Regions from separate parts of the Homo sapiens genome. Here regions 1 and 3 are each linked to region 2. Evidence: promoter capture Hi-C in 16 types of primary human blood cells and fetal thymus (Javierre and others, 2016). All regions are on one chromosome and are shown on one strand. The core of a region is centred on a gene start or on the middle of the fragment in contact, and the rest is flanking DNA. Distances in the headings are between cores, read along the strand shown. Region 1 holds the start of OR8U3 (olfactory receptor family 8 subfamily U member 3). Region 2 holds the start of OR8K5 (olfactory receptor family 8 subfamily K member 5). Region 3 holds the start of OR5M9 (olfactory receptor family 5 subfamily M member 9).

Region 1 (2,885 bases), core at 69-2,568, 260 kb before region 2:
GTGTGTGTGTGTGTGTGTGTGTGTATATATATATATATATATATATATATATATATATATATGTTTTAGGAGTCTTCTATTTTACTTTGACCTAGTATATGAAAACTTAGCAATCTTTGGAAAACTACAGTTTTCATGTTTGTCTTCTGTAAGCTTTAAACATTTAGTTTGACACTTTAGCCTCGTTCTTCCATCCATCCCGGCGATTAAAGCTTAAGGAACAAACCACTACACTTGGGCAGCATAAGGATGATTAGAAATATGGGCTCTGCTGTCAGTTATACATAGTCACACTAATACTCTGTGACCATCACCAGAAAGTCGGATTTTTCCAATGTTTATAAGGAGTTATGGGTGAGAGCCTTCCTCATAGGGTAAGCAAGAGACTATCTTAATTCATGTAATGCACTCAGAATATCTGATAAGGACATCACTCAATTGCAATAGATAAAATAATAATAGTACTAATCAATGGAATATGAAAGACAAAGTGGTTAGATATGATGATCTCTCAAAGCATTTTCTAGTTAATATTTCATGATTCTATTTTTTGAAAAATAAAGCCAGGACCAAATTAAAGTTTAAATAGGCTAATATTGGGCTTAACAAGATGAATCCTCTTTTTTTCAGGGCTGGTAGAAATACAAATAATTATAATTATCCTAAAAGATGCATCAAAAACTCCACCCACCAGTATATGTTTCCATAAAACTTTTTACAACTGAATGTTTCCTTTCTCATATTTCTGATCAAATTTCTTTCCATTTCTACAGCATAAATTACTTATTCTATATAAATGTGGGAAGGAATATAGCAAATTGAATAGTTCATAGGAGCTCTAAAATTATTTTGATCTATTTTTGACATATTTTATGGAAGCACGCACAAAACCGAAAAATAAGGAAATATAAATGTGGTCACGTCTATAAATTCAATATTTTTGTTCTGTTATATATGCATGGAAAATATATAAGATTTTTAATGGCAGCAAAAACATTGAAATATTAGTGTCAGTTGTCACAAGCGGTTTCATACTATATAATTTTAACCAACATCTTCTCTTATTTTCTAAAATTACAAAGCAAAATATTTCTTAAGGTGGTCTATTTACTATTCTGCAAGTAAAAGACTCCCCTCCCTCAGGCAAGATTGGCCTCTGTCATTAGAGAGGTAAGATGTATGTTTTTGCCCACATGATGATATGATTCAAGGCAAGAAGACAACAATCATCACCTTTACCCAACACTGACAGGGAACATGAGAAGTATCTTTTTTATTTTTCAACTGCGACAAAATCTACAAAACCTGTTAGGATAAATGGCTGAAGTTAATATCATTTATGTCACTGTATTCATTCTGAAAGGAATTACCAACCGGCCAGAGCTTCAGGCCCCGTGCTTTGGGGTGTTTTTAGTTATCTATCTGGTCACAGTGCTGGGCAATCTTGGGTTGATTACTTTAATCAAGATTGATACTCGACTCCACACACCTATGTACTATTTCCTCAGCCACCTGGCCTTTGTTGACCTTTGTTACTCCTCTGCTATTACACCGAAGATGATGGTGAATTTTGTTGTGGAACGCAACACCATTCCTTTCCATGCTTGTGCAACCCAACTGGGTTGTTTTCTCACCTTCATGATCACTGAGTGTTTCCTTCTAGCCTCCATGGCCTACGATTGCTATGTCGCCATCTGTAGTCCCCTGCATTATTCAACACTGATGTCAAGAAGAGTCTGCATTCAACTGGTGGCAGTTCCATATATATACAGCTTCCTGGTTGCCCTCTTCCACACCGTTATCACTTTCCGTCTGACTTACTGTGGCCCAAACTTAATTAACCATTTCTATTGTGATGACCTCCCCTTCTTAGCTCTGTCCTGCTCAGACACACACATGAAGGAAATTCTGATATTTGCCTTTGCTGGCTTTGATATGATCTCTTCCTCTTCCATTGTCCTCACCTCCTACATCTTTATTATTGCCGCTATCCTAAGGATCCGCTCTACTCAGGGGCAACACAAAGCCATTTCCACCTGTGGCTCCCATATGGTGACTGTCACTATTTTCTATGGCACACTGATCTTTATGTACCTACAGCCCAAATCAAATCACTCCTTGGACACAGACAAGATGGCTTCTGTATTTTACACAGTGGTGATCCCCATGTTAAACCCCCTAATCTATAGTCTAAGGAACAAAGAAGTGAAAGATGCCTCAAAGAAAGCCTTGGATAAAGGTTGTGAAAACTTACAGATATTAACATTTTTAAAAATAAGAAAACTTTATTAAACAAGCAGGAAATAAATCAAACTTTTTCTTGTAATTATTTCCCAATGAACTGAAAATGTAGCTGTTACTTTAATGGACCTTGACATTTTCTGCAAGAACCAGGCAGATCATGAAAAATCAGTACGAATTAAAGCATTCAATTCAGGCCATCACAGTCTTGGCAGACCACTGAAACCACGTTCAAATACAAACAGAGACACACTCATATATGCAAACACTCATAGGTGTATTTAAAGCAAAGGCAGCAGCATGTTTTTGTTAGAGTTTGGGATGCTGAAACAAGATTGAGTTTGAACACTATTTCCTTCATATTAGCTCTGCAACCTTGGAAAATTGAGCTAAATTTTGTGTGGCTTTGTCTCCAAGTCTGGGAAATAATAGGACCTAACTCATTGCTCTTTTTTTAAGGATTGTACAGGTTAATATTTATGAAATGCTTAGAAAAATATCCAGTGATAATAAGTGTTTTGGAAGCCTTAGGTATATAAATGTTTGTTATATAAAGTTAGAAATGAATTTATTTGGCCTGGCACAGTGGCTCACACCTGTAGTACCAGCACTTTAGGAGTCAAGGGTGGGAGGATTGCTTAAGC
Region 2 (3,120 bases), core at 614-3,113:
TGGAATTCTGAATTTCCTTTGCAATTCAGTGCATCTTCTATTCTACCATAAAACCCTATGTGAGCAATTCCTGCAATACTGCAAATTTAAGATAAAGTTTTAGAAATAGAATAGTCATGGTTCTTATCTGTGGGAAAAGAAAGACCTAAAAGAGGGGTGAAGTTCAATGGAGAAACAGCAGACAGCTTCATTTAGGGAGAAGGAATGGAAGAGGGTCACTAACCTCCACTGTTGCCCCCTTCCCACATCTGTAGTCCATAGATGAAGTTGGCAAAATGTCTCCCACTAATGAGCAGATACCTAGAAGTGTTGCCAAATGCCACAGTGTGGCTGTGGACTGCACCTGCTCCAAACTGTAGTTTTGGATCTTTAGGTGGGTTTTCAGAGTTTTCTACCTGAGGGATGTGCAGGCTAAAGCTGACATTCCATTACATTATAATAAATCTATTCTACATTAGATCTGTGGAAAATTCCGTTACTATTCCAATTGAAAGTCACTCTCACAGAGTTCCAGATTTTCAATGAGTGGAAACTGAAGGAGAGGGGAATTTAAGTGGAATAGGCTAAGACATCTTCACTATCTGTATCAGGGACGTTCCACTTTCTTTTATTGACTTCCCGTGTATTTTTTAAATAAAGGGAGAAGTACTTTTCATTGAAATAGTTTTAATTACAGTATTATATCTCCATGAATACTCCACTGTACAATTCCAGAAAAAAAGTCATTCACTAATATATGATGTCCTAAATTCTCAAATTATTTAAATGATTTATAGAACCTACCATCTTCACAGTGTTTTATTACAGAAAATAAAGTACATATAATTAAATAGTCATCACTGAATATTGATTTAAATCATGTTTTTGCAGAAGTGGATCCAGATTATGTGTCTTGAAGCTTAGAAGAATTTGACTTTTTAGATAAAATTACACATACAAGTTGAAAGATAAATGGGAATATTTATTTAGAATAGAAAATTAGCTTTAAATTGTAATTAGTAAACAAACCCATGGCCACAAACTATATAAAATTTATTAATATAGTATGTTAATTAATCAAATGCCAAATGCATCTCAGCATACAGGTGGCAAGAGTATCCTTAGAAGACATTCTTAAGTCAGAATAGGTAGTATTATTCAGTGATAAATATCATAGTGTCTGAATGATATAAACATATCCATTGAACATCAAATAAACTATTATTAACTCAATCCTTCTTTAGCTAGATCCCACAATGCTTGCAGAAATGTCAAGTCACTATGATATTAGTTGAAGTGTGATATACTAGAAGTTGGAATGAAAACAGAAAGCAGCCTTAATTGATCATGATTATTATATCTTACATTTGAAATTTTACAAAGATATATCATTTTTGCGTGCATTCGTAAGTCCCCACACAAGACCCTGGAAGTGCAAATGAGGGACCCCAAATCTTAACCTTCATTATCTTATTGCCATCTCTACCTCTGTCTTTGAGAATATCAAAATTACAGAAAAGTTTTACAACAAAAGTGGAAGTGAACAAAAGAAAATCATGATACCATTGTGCAGATGAAAAGAGCATAATCTTTTTGTAATAATACCTATATGGCTGTGTTATTAACCGATATACTTCAAATATTGATGAAACTATTTAATCTATGTTGTTTCAGTGCATGTATTTTACATGAATTCCTCTTTTAGGAAAGTAGAAAATTTTGCTTTATATTTCATTTCTGAATCAAATGTAGAAATAATGTTTCTATTATCTATTGTGAATAACAATCTATTCTGTCTACAAATATTATAATTTGTTTAAATAGCACTACATGGAACAGCTAATAACCCAACTGTTTCTTCCTAGAAGAGATAACTGGACTAAATGGGCCAACACAATCTAACAGTGCTAACTGAATTCATTCTGATGGAACTCACAAGGCGGCCTGAGCTGCAGATTCCCCTTTTTGGAGTCTTCCTCGTCATCTACCTAATCACAGTGGTGGGCAACCTAACTATGATCATTTTGACCAAACTGGACTCCCACTTACATACACCTATGTACTTTTCTATCAGACATTTGGCTTTTGTTGATCTTGGTAATTCTACTGTCATTTGTCCCAAGGTGCTGGCAAATTTTGTTGTGGATCGAAATACTATTTCCTATTATGCATGTGCTGCACAGCTGGCATTCTTCCTTATGTTCATTATCAGTGAATTTTTCATCCTGTCAGCCATGGCCTATGACCGCTATGTGGCCATTTGTAACCCTCTGCTCTATTATGTTATTATGTCTCAGCGACTGTGTCATGTACTGGTGGGCATTCAATATCTCTACAGCACATTTCAGGCTCTGATGTTCACTATTAAGATTTTTACATTGACCTTCTGTGGCTCTAATGTCATCAGTCATTTTTACTGTGATGATGTTCCTTTGCTACCTATGCTTTGCTCAAATGCACAGGAAATAGAATTGTTGAGCATACTATTTTCTGTATTTAATTTGATCTCCTCCTTTCTGATAGTCTTAGTGTCCTACATGTTGATTTTGTTAGCTATATGTCAAATGCATTCTGCAGAGGGCAGGAAAAAGGCTTTCTCCACATGTGGTTCCCATTTGACAGTGGTGGTTGTGTTCTATGGGTCTCTACTCTTCATGTACATGCAGCCCAATTCCACTCACTTCTTTGATACTGATAAAATGGCTTCTGTGTTTTACACTTTAGTAATCCCCATGCTTAACCCTTTGATTTACAGCTTAAGAAACGAAGAGGTGAAAAATGCCTTCTATAAGCTCTTTGAGAATTGATGTCAACTTTGTGTTTAATAATCAATTTGTAATATTGTTATAATAAATATATAATATAGATTAATGTCACTTGATAATTTTTCATGTGTATATAAATTTTCCAATTTTCAAATTTTTTTAATTGTTTTTTATTTCAATAATTTTTGGGAAGTAGGAGGTTTCTGGTTATGTGAATAAGTTCATTGGGGTAATTTCTGAGGTTTTGGTGCACTCATCACCTGAGCAGTGTACACTGTACTCAATGTGTAGCCTTTTATCCCTCGCCCACACTGCACACTTTTCCCTGTGTCCCCAAAATACATTATGTCATTCTTACCTATTTGTATCCTCATAG
Region 3 (2,845 bases), core at 278-2,777, 300 kb before region 2:
TCATTTCTCATTTTTTGTCCTCTCATTCTCTTTTACAGACAAAAACTATTAACTTTCATAATATTGTTTAAATATATGTATGAATGGAGTTGGGGATATAGGGTCAGTTGGCATGATTGGTCCAGTAATTTATGCCTTCACTGGTTTTCTTCATGAAAAATTCCTGAAGTGTTAATAGAAATGAATTTTGGGTTTTATTTGTCGATTACAAATTCAATCTTCTTGATTATTTTGATAGATGATACACATTTAGGTATTAAATTAATTTTCTCCCAGAAATCATTATCATCTGATCCTGGGATGATAAACTTGGACAAGTAGAGAGTTGCAGTGATTTACTATCTCAGTGGTTTAGGCTGCTCTGGGGTAACCAAAGCTCTTAAAAGTCCATTAAAGATGAACTATGAAAGAGATAACTTCCACATATTGTGGAGGATGAGCAAACTGAATTTCAAATGAAAAGAAATATAATGGTAGAAGAGGCTGTCAAAGATGCAGCAATAGAAGATTGTTAAAGACACAACACTAAAATGATTTTGTTTGCATCCCAATTCTGCTAATTAGTAGACCTCTGACCCAGGGAGACTTTCTTAATCTCTCAGTGTTTAGCTTCCTCATTTGTAAAATGGTCATGCAAATAAAACCTGTTTTACAGGACATTTGCGTAGAAGAGTTTTCCTGAACATTCAATAACAGCTATTCTTATAAGTATTACAAGGCTGGGACTGTTGCCTCTAGAAAAATATTTCTTAGAGAGTTTTAATTATACTGGATTATTGTACTATGTTTAGTGGATCTAGAGATCAGGGCATGTAGAAATCATATGTATAACTATTTCTAAATTTCTGTTAAATGTAACTACTAAGCAAGACAGTTTAAGGAGTTTCAAGGTAAACAAAACAAACTAATATTAGGCTGGTACAAAAGTAATTGCATTTTTGCCATTGAAAGTAACGGCAAAACCCACAATAACTTTTGCAGCAACCTAAATGCTAAAGCGCTAATGATTTTGTGTAAAATAAGAAAAGTACATCACACTGTGACTGAAACAAAATGTAGTGTTAGTTTATGTTTCTTAGATGCCTTGATGCTTTATTTCATATATTTTATACTTAATACAGTAGTAACACTAACCCAAGTCAAATTCTGTTAGTAACAGGAAACCAGTAGAGATCAGAAATTTTTACATAGGAAAATCTCTGACCACAGCATCTGCAGCTCTTTACCTAGTTTGACATTTATAATGAGCCAAAAAAGTGAAACTACAATCATGGACATCTATAGCAAAGGAAAGTTGGATCAGAACTAAAACTGCAATGTCTATTATGTTATATATTCAGTTCATTTTATGTATAGTATATTTAAACCCTGTATTGTACATTTTTGCAAAGTGTACATTGTTTTTAAATTATTTGAATTAAAATAAGGACAAACGCAACTCAGTTTCAAGAATAAAACAAATTCATTTACTTTCCTTTTGAAACAATTTCTCCATAGGCAACACAGACTTGGCCTATACTAAGGCAATGCCTAATTTCACGGATGTGACAGAATTTACTCTCCTGGGGCTGACCTGTCGTCAGGAGCTACAGGTTCTCTTTTTTGTGGTGTTCCTAGCGGTTTACATGATCACTCTGTTGGGAAATATTGGTATGATCATTTTGATTAGCATCAGTCCTCAGCTTCAGAGTCCCATGTACTTTTTCCTGAGTCATCTGTCTTTTGCGGACGTGTGCTTCTCCTCCAACGTTACCCCCAAAATGCTGGAAAACTTATTATCAGAGACAAAAACCATTTCCTATGTGGGATGCTTGGTGCAGTGCTACTTTTTCATTGCCGTTGTCCACGTGGAGGTCTATATCCTGGCTGTGATGGCCTTTGACAGGTACATGGCCGGCTGCAACCCTCTGCTTTATGGCAGTAAAATGTCTAGGACTGTGTGTGTTCGGCTCATCTCTGTGCCTTATGTCTATGGATTCTCTGTCAGCCTAATATGCACACTATGGACTTATGGCTTATACTTCTGTGGAAACTTTGAAATCAATCACTTCTATTGTGCAGATCCCCCTCTCATCCAGATTGCCTGTGGGAGAGTGCACATCAAAGAAATCACAATGATTGTTATTGCTGGAATTAACTTCACATATTCCCTCTCGGTGGTCCTCATCTCCTACACTCTCATTGTAGTAGCTGTGCTACGCATGCGCTCTGCCGATGGCAGGAGGAAGGCGTTCTCCACCTGTGGGTCCCACTTGACGGCTGTTTCTATGTTTTATGGGACCCCCATCTTCATGTATCTCAGGAGACCCACTGAGGAATCCGTAGAGCAGGGCAAAATGGTGGCTGTGTTTTACACCACAGTAATTCCTATGTTGAATCCCATGATCTACAGTCTGAGAAATAAGGATGTAAAAGAAGCAGTCAACAAAGCAATCACCAAGACATATGTGAGGCAGTAAAACTGTAGTGGATATTGTTGTCCCTATTATAAATAGGGTCCTGTTATAAATGGTCACATGTAAAAGTCCTAGCTCAGAAAACAGTATCAAAAGGTAACTCTTTCACACACTAAGAGGTCTGATGTAACAGGGTGATGTTTTACCCCTTGTATGGACTCTAATTACTAAGCATATTTTCTCCTATATGTGCGCCAATATTATGAAAGATGACACAATGTTCATTCACAATATGCTTAAAATTGGGCTAAGTTTAGTCACTGGAGGAACTCACAAATGAGTGTACATACATATATGTTAAGTTGGAAGTATGCTTGTTAGTGTTGGATGTTATTTTGCAGAGTACTTTATACATATACATATTCCTCAAACTAGATTTCATGTGAAAT

Evidence for each region. The method cuts DNA at HindIII sites, captures the fragments that hold promoters and counts their contacts. A CHiCAGO score of 5 or more calls a contact.
Region 1: a contact is called between the fragment with the promoter of OR8U3 here and the fragment with the promoter of OR8K5 in region 2, in 10 of 17 cell types (neutrophils, M2 macrophages, non-activated CD4 T cells and 7 more). The highest score is 15.8, in neutrophils.
Region 3: a contact is called between the fragment with the promoter of OR5M9 here and the fragment with the promoter of OR8K5 in region 2, in 5 of 17 cell types (neutrophils, naive B cells, naive CD4 T cells and 2 more). The highest score is 8.4, in neutrophils.

The regions. Positions count from the first base shown.
Region 1 is chr11:56,416,665-56,419,549 of GRCh38, reverse strand. It overlaps OR8U3 (olfactory receptor family 8 subfamily U member 3), which reads left to right and starts at 1,318. Exons shown (of 1, transcript NM_001004744.1): 1 at 1,318-2,292. The coding sequence starts at 1,318. The coding sequence ends at 2,292. The HindIII fragment of the contact is 8,358 bases long and covers 215-2,885 here.
Region 2 is chr11:56,159,060-56,162,179 of GRCh38, reverse strand. It overlaps OR8K5 (olfactory receptor family 8 subfamily K member 5), which reads left to right and starts at 1,863. Exons shown (of 1, transcript NM_001004058.2): 1 at 1,863-2,786. The coding sequence starts at 1,863. The coding sequence ends at 2,786. The HindIII fragment of the contact is 6,274 bases long and covers 901-3,120 here.
Region 3 is chr11:56,462,083-56,464,927 of GRCh38, reverse strand. OR5M9 (olfactory receptor family 5 subfamily M member 9) reads left to right here and starts at 1,527. Exons shown (of 1, transcript NM_001004743.1): 1 at 1,527-2,459. The coding sequence starts at 1,527. The coding sequence ends at 2,459. The HindIII fragment of the contact is 10,097 bases long and covers 1-2,845 here.